2 separate regions of the Homo sapiens genome follow, and region 2 is linked to region 1. Evidence: promoter capture Hi-C in 16 types of primary human blood cells and fetal thymus (Javierre and others, 2016). All regions are on one chromosome and are shown on one strand. The core of a region is centred on a gene start or on the middle of the fragment in contact, and the rest is flanking DNA. Distances in the headings are between cores, read along the strand shown. Region 1 holds the start of TAGAP (T cell activation RhoGTPase activating protein). Region 2 overlaps LOC112267968.

Region 1 (3,610 bases), core at 65-2,564:
TTTCGACCTCTCTGTGCTTCGGTTTCCCAAAGTCTGCCCCATAATCACCTCCTTTCAGTAAAATGACAAAAGAACTGACAATGCGGAAAAGTCTTAAAATTAAAGATGCTGATGATAAATGAAGCCAAGTTATTTTAAAACTTTTTATTGAAAAATTACATAAATAGGGAAGTGTGCACATAAGCCTAGCACCACCCAGATCAAGAATGGACCATCACCAAGCCCCCCGCTGGCCCCTGGAAGTCATTACCATCCCCTCTGGGAAACTGCTACTCTTGCTTCCAACAGCACAGACGACTTTTGCTAATTTTGTGCTTTGCATTAATGGGAGCCGGCAGGATATACACTTTCACGTCTGGCTTCTTTTGCTCAGCGTCATATTATGAGATCCAACCATATTGTTGGCTATAGTCATAGGCTGTTCATTATCAGTGCTATACAACATTCATTCCCTATGTGAATGGATCACAATTTATGCATCCATTCTCGTGTCGAGGCATTTGAGTGGTTTCATATATAGCCCTTGATCTACAGAAAAGATCAGAAATTCTCTTATGCAGAAGAGTGATCCACAAATGAAATTCACCATCTCTTTCCTACTTTAAGTTGGTCTGATCAAAGGAATTTTTTTGTTTGTTTTCCTTCCGTGTCAGAACGACAGCTGCTCTGACTGTAAATTAAGTATCAATACTTTTGACCAGGAGTTACAGAAAGGAGGAGGGGGTTACTATATTGACAACTGACTCGAGGGAGTTTTCTTTCTACTTCCAAAGGAAACTAACCTGGCTTTGGACGGTGATTGTTCCTCAAGGAAGGGACTGTCTTGGGTTTCTTTCTGGTTCTGTAACAGTGTCCCACATCCAGGGGTGCTAATCAACGTGTGGTGCTGGTGGACAGAGCAGATGGCACGTGGGAGGGGAAAGAGCACCCAAACAGGATGCAAAAAGAGGCACTTGAAATTACCACTTTAGAAAATAAAGTGATGTTTATGCACAGAATAACACAATTTCTTGTTCACACATCCCACCTATGACATTAATCAGAGCCTTCACCTATGGGCTGAATGTCATGTTTTCCACTCCTAGTAGTTTACAGATTTTTTACTTTGAAGTGGAAGACACAAAAAAAAAAAAAAAAAAAAAAAAAAAAAAAGACATAGCTGCCCTAAAAGGAATGAGGAAGCGAGAGCTCTCCAGTGTCTGGCTGGCTCCGTCCGTGTGACAGCCCATGATGTTCTTTCCGGTCTCTGTAATATTCTGAATTTCCACCTGCCCGCCCCTTCGCTTATAATGCAGAGCATGTGAAGGGAGACCGGCTCGGTCTCTCTCTCTCCCAGTGGACTAGAAGGAGCAGAGAGTTATGCTGTTTCTCCCATTCTTTACAGCTCACCGGATGTAAAAGAACTCTGGCTAGAGACCCTCCAAGGGTAAGTACACTATATATTAACATGCCTAGAAATTACAAGCTGCCTCGCAAGTCACAGGTCACTCAGATCACAGGCAACAGAAAACAGCTATCCCGTGGAATATGCTCTCACTTTATAAAGTCTCAGGACAAAGCTTTGCTTCAACGTGAAGGCTGCACCTTTTTGGTGTAGGAGTTCTGTAAATGTTATCTTTGTTTCATGTTTACTATTTTAGCATCCTAGGGATATGTTTTTTTTTTTTTCCTTTTTGGATTAGATGAGAAAATCCATGCAAAGCACCTACTACGACAGCTGGCATATAGTCAGCACTCCACCAAAAAAGTTAATGTTCATGTTAATTTAAAATGTTAACGTAATTGATATCCAGATTATCTCTTGATGGAACGGAATAAATTGGTAACAACGTTTAGAGTGGTAAAGATAGTTGACTTAAATAATTTAGAAATAATTGTGTTCAGATGCTGCTCTTAACAACATACAACATCTGGTAACAGAACTGATTTTAAATGAAAACTTGTCTATGTAATAGTTTTTTCCAAAGTAAAGGCAAGTGAAAAAATAGCAAAAGAGAAAAATAAATAAATAGTTTCAAACTCTGTGCTTTGGCAAAGTGGCGCTGAAAGTGGCCTACTGTGTGAGTCCCTCCTAACTCCTTTCCATGTGATTCGTTGTAGACAGAGGCACAGCCACACGGGAGTGAAATCCACCCCTGGACAGTCAGCCGCAATACTGATGAAGCTGAGAAGCAGCCACAATGCTGTGAGTGCCCCTCTCACATTCATTCATTCACGTTTCCTACAGGCAAGGGCCAAAAGATATTTACCTAATTTTATTTTTTCTCTTTTAGTCAAAAACACTAAACGCCAATAATATGGAGACACTAATCGAATGTCAATCAGAGGTAAGAAAGCAATTTTTAAGACTTTTTATCTGTACTGTGAGAAGGTGGAAAACTTTGTTTTAATTGAATATTATTTGGGTTGAATAGTAATTATAAGAGTAGTAAACTAACATCACACATGTAGTAAATTAAGCACATTAATTAGGATCTTATATGATGACAATCAAGACCTTAATATTGCTTCTAGAAGCTAGAAAAAACATCAATGCACTCTACTGACTTCATTTTTAATATGAATAAAATGCTGTATGTGTGTTTTGTGGGGAAAGACTCGATAGGTTTCTTCAGTCACTATATTTAACTGAAATAAAAATGTTTTTAGGGTGATATCAAGGAACATCCCCTGTTGGCATCATGTGAGAGTGAAGACAGTATTTGCCAGCTCATTGGTGAGTTTTAAAAACATACCGATCTTTTATGTAAGTGCTAACAACCAGTGCTCTTGGTTTGCAAAACCACAGCGCTTTTACTCTACTAGGAATTTTTTTGTATAAGTTGTTCTGTTAAAGACCGCAGAACATTAACCCTTAAATGGCAGGTATGCTCCAACTCACTAGAGCAGGGAGTGCTGGGAAAGGAAAGAGCCTCTCCATAGAGAATCCCCAGTTCTGCCAAGCGTTTTTAATGCGGTTCAATCTCCTGGCCATGTATGTTTCGACAATTAGCATGCACACATTTGAAAAACACACAGTGTCTTTTCCATTTTCTTCCTTCTCTTATGGAGAATGCATCCAAGAGCCTATGAAGCAACTGTTGCTGATCTCAAATCCCAAAGGACCCACCATTCACTCTCAACTTTTTTCATAATGCATTTCATTATAGCGTAACCCTGACCCAGTTCTCCTGAACCATAAAGACAGGCCACTTCTTTCTCATCATGCTTCCACTTGCCAATCTGAAATGTATAGAAACAGATGCCAATGCATTTAGAAAATATAGCCTTTATAATTAGTAAGAAAGGAGAAGGAAGGAAGGAAGGAAAAGAAAAGAAAGAAGGAAATGTTTGAGATTGCAATATCCATTGCACACACATCTTGTGGATTTCAGAAGGACAGAATATCTTGATAACGTTTTGCTGATAATTCCCAGTTGCCAGATCTAGGTTCAAGGCTTCCCGCAGCGATTCGTATTTGCCTCTGTCCTAAAGCAGCAACCTGGAAAACCCAAGGTGACCAGTCACCTGGAAGGAAAAATGGTGTTAGCTCCCTCTAGTGGCTGTTTAGTGCCTGCGTGGCTGCAAAGGGTTGGAGCCAGCCCTGCTATGTGCCTTCGAAAAGATATTC
Region 2 (3,257 bases), core at 531-3,030, 35 kb before region 1:
GGCAGAGTTTGGGAATGAGTGTGAGCTTTGGACACAGATGGTTTCAAATGCCTGTCTTTTTATTTTGGAGCTCTGTTAAGCTTGGCCACGCATTTCCTCACCTATGAAATACGGAAAATAGAGCTCACTTATAGAGCATTACTAAAGATTTGATGTTAATGGGTCAAGTCCTTGATGCTCAACAAATATTAGTTATTTTCCTTAAATGTTGATTTAAAAACTGAAATGGACTGAATTTTCAGGATAGTGTGAGGATGTAATTACTTGTAATTACTTCTAAATTCCTATAAGTTCTTTTTCTGGGTTTTTTTTGTGTTTTTTTTTTTTTTTTTTTTTAATGGACTCTCGCTGTGTCACCCAGGCTGGAGTGCAGTGGCGCAATCTCAGCTCACTGCAAGTTCCACCTACCGGGTTCATGCCATTCACCTGCCTCAGCCACCCCAGCAGCTGGGACTACAGGCGCCTGCCACCAAGCCCGGCTACATTTTTTGTATTTTTAGTAGAGAGGGGTTTCACCATGTTAGCCAGGATGGTCTCAATCTCCTAACCTCGTGATCCACCCGCACCCGCCTTGGCCTCCCAAAGTGCTGGGATTACAGGCGTGAGCCACCATGCCTGGCCTTGTTTTTTGGTTTGTTTTTTTTTTTGTTTTTTTTGTTTTTTTTTTTTTGTTTTTTTTTTTTAAGGATGTATATTCCCTTGTTCCAGATCTATTTTTTACAGTAACTCCTAATTGTAAGGATGATGGAAAGTTGGTTGTAAGGCAGATTAGCATGACTGCCTCACCACAGAGTGTGGGACCTAAGTGAGGGACTGGGGAAGACCAGACAGGAAGGAGGGCTCTGCTAAAAATAAAACAAAAAGACCCTCGTGGCTCTTCCTTCCTTTTGATGGGTATTGTTAGATTAACCCATAGAGCACAGACAGAAAGAAAGAAAGGGACTGGTCATTTCTCTAAACTCAGGGTGTGAGCTCCACAGTCCTTTCTGCAGAAGGGGAAGCCCCTGAGACCGTTCCTCTGCCAGGCCACCTTGCCCATTAGCAGATGTGCACAGTTACGTTACCCCAGTGTCAACAAAGCACAACTTCCAGTCTGTGCACAAAGTGGGACAGCCCCAGAGCTTGGTAGGAGGTGGAGGATGTGAGGAAGGTTATGGGCTATTTCAAGTTTCTTACAGACTAAGTGTCTCTTACATTGTGCTGTCAACACAAGAGCTAGAATGGACCCCTGCCTGGAGTTCACTTCTGACTGGAAGACCTGTGCTGTCATAGACCTTGGCCAACCTCTGTTTCATTAATCACAATGAAGGCTGCCCCACACCTCTGTCTCTAGAGAGAAGCTAAGTAAGGCAATTCTGCTGGGCCATGAGACTTCCTGTGTGCCTGCTGCTATGCCCAAATGCCACTACACGTGACTTTGGTCTCTTTGAATTAAATGATATAATAAAGAGCTAACATTTTATTCTGTGTTGCCTGTGGACCAGGTAGTAGACTAACATTTTCATATTATTTCTATAATTTGGTCCTCAGACCAACCTATCCTTGGTGTTTTTATTCTTAGCTTGAGGATCGAAACGCTGATGCGTGGGTTATCCCCTTGCCTCAAGTCACAGCATGAGTATGCAGTGAAGTTGGGATTTGAACCTGGATTTTCTTGTGCTTTAGACAGCTATGTGGGGGCCTCATAGTTCTGAGCCCAGATGTTTCAGTAGTTTATTTGGTCTAGGCTTTCTTGATATAGTGAAAAAAAATGCAAAACAAAATTTAAGGAAAAGTTATAAAATAAAACAATTGGTCCCAGGAGGCTATAACCCAATTTCACCAAGATATTCTAATTAAAGGAAGCATTTAAATTTGTCTCCTTCTTCCTCATTTTATAGCCCATATGTTAAATTATCCCAACTCTTGATGGTTCAAATATCCCAGAAGATATTTTCTCCATGAATTGTTCAGGGTTAAGATTTCCTCATTGCAGATCTCTGTTTATTTTTACTATATGCCAAATGTTTTTATTTTCTGCCAAACTGTTCTTCTCTGGAATGCTGTACTCTGTAACCAGGGAGAGACCCAGTGCAAGGCTGGGAGCGGCCGGGAGACAAAAAAAGGACAGCAGCTTTACATAATGTACCCCCTGTCATTTCGAACCTCCTCCACCACAGTTTCCACTGGGACTGGTTCTGCTTGCAGATTCATGCTAGAGACATGAATAATAGAAGTGAACAAATGAAACAGAGGAACTTAAAAACCCATCCACCTTTACTTAGGTAATAGCCACCCTGAAATCCTTTTTTTTTTTTTTTTTTGCTAAAGTGCAGTGGCGCAACCTTGGCTCACCACAACCTCTGCCTCCCAGGTTCAAGCGATTCTCCTGCCTCAGTCTCCTGAGTAGCTGAGAGCACAGGCACCCACCACCACACCCAGCTAATTTTTGTATTTTTAGTAGAGACAGGTTTTCACCATGTTGGCCAGGCTGGTCTCAAACTCCTTACCTCAAGTAAGCCATCTGCCTTGGCCTCCCAAAGTGCTGGAATTACAGGCATGAGCCACCACGCCCAGCCTGAAACTCCATTTTCAAGTATGCACCCACTAAGTCAAGACAGAGAGTCCCCTTTAGCATGAGATTGAGACAATGGGGCGAGGCAGAAGCCAAAATGTTCTCCTTTTCTTCCTTTGCCCAAATCCATTCAATGACCAAGACCATGTCATTCTAACCCATCCCCTCTGCCTCATCCCAGGCCCTCATCATCTCGCATCTGACTATTGCACCTGTCTCCTTACCTGCTCAGCCCATTTCATCCTTCATGCCACCACAGAGGAGTAGTGGCTTCAAGACTGATCTCATCTAGCACCCGCCTCACCTCACTCCCATCTCTTCCAATCCTCAATGGCAAACATCATCTCAATAAAACATCAGTAACATCACCTGCCTTCTTATGAAGCCCCTCCAGCTAGTGTGGCACTAAGAAGGTTTACTCTCTCCTACTTCCTCCCTCTCCTCCCATTGTGCAGGGAAATACTTGGAGTTTCCCAAACTCCCCACGCCTCCCATTCCTGGGTCACCTTGCTGAGTCTTCTCCAAGTCTCTTGCCCCTTTTTCTCCTCTTTGGGATAGCCCACTTCAGCGTCAATGTCACCATGTCATGGAAGTCCACTCCAGCTGCCGCAGGTAGAGTGAGTTGTTCCTTCCTCAAGGTTCCCACTGCCTTTGGCATTGCCTCCCTCTAATTGAGCCAGCCCAGGTGACTTCCAGATGGGGC

What was found. The method cuts DNA at HindIII sites, captures the fragments that hold promoters and counts their contacts. A CHiCAGO score of 5 or more calls a contact.
Region 2: a fragment that was not itself captured here is called in contact with the fragment with the promoter of TAGAP in region 1 in 2 of 17 cell types (total B cells and naive B cells); the score reaches 7.7 in total B cells.

What each region holds. Positions count from the first base shown.
Region 1 is chr6:159,042,695-159,046,304 of GRCh38, reverse strand. It overlaps TAGAP (T cell activation RhoGTPase activating protein), which reads left to right and starts at 1,314. Exons shown (of 10, transcript NM_054114.5): 1 at 1,314-1,426; 2 at 2,101-2,185; 3 at 2,274-2,327; 4 at 2,650-2,716. The coding sequence starts at 2,159. It overlaps TAGAP-AS1 (TAGAP antisense RNA 1), which reads right to left. Exons shown (of 5, transcript NR_183546.1): 5 at 3,249-3,610. The HindIII fragment of the contact is 8,846 bases long and covers 1-1,561 here.
Region 2 is chr6:159,078,378-159,081,634 of GRCh38, reverse strand. The region is part of intron 3 of LOC112267968; the gene reads left to right. Among named protein-coding and RNA genes, the nearest start is that of TAGAP, 35 kb to the right of the region's middle. The HindIII fragment of the contact is 3,396 bases long and covers 83-3,257 here.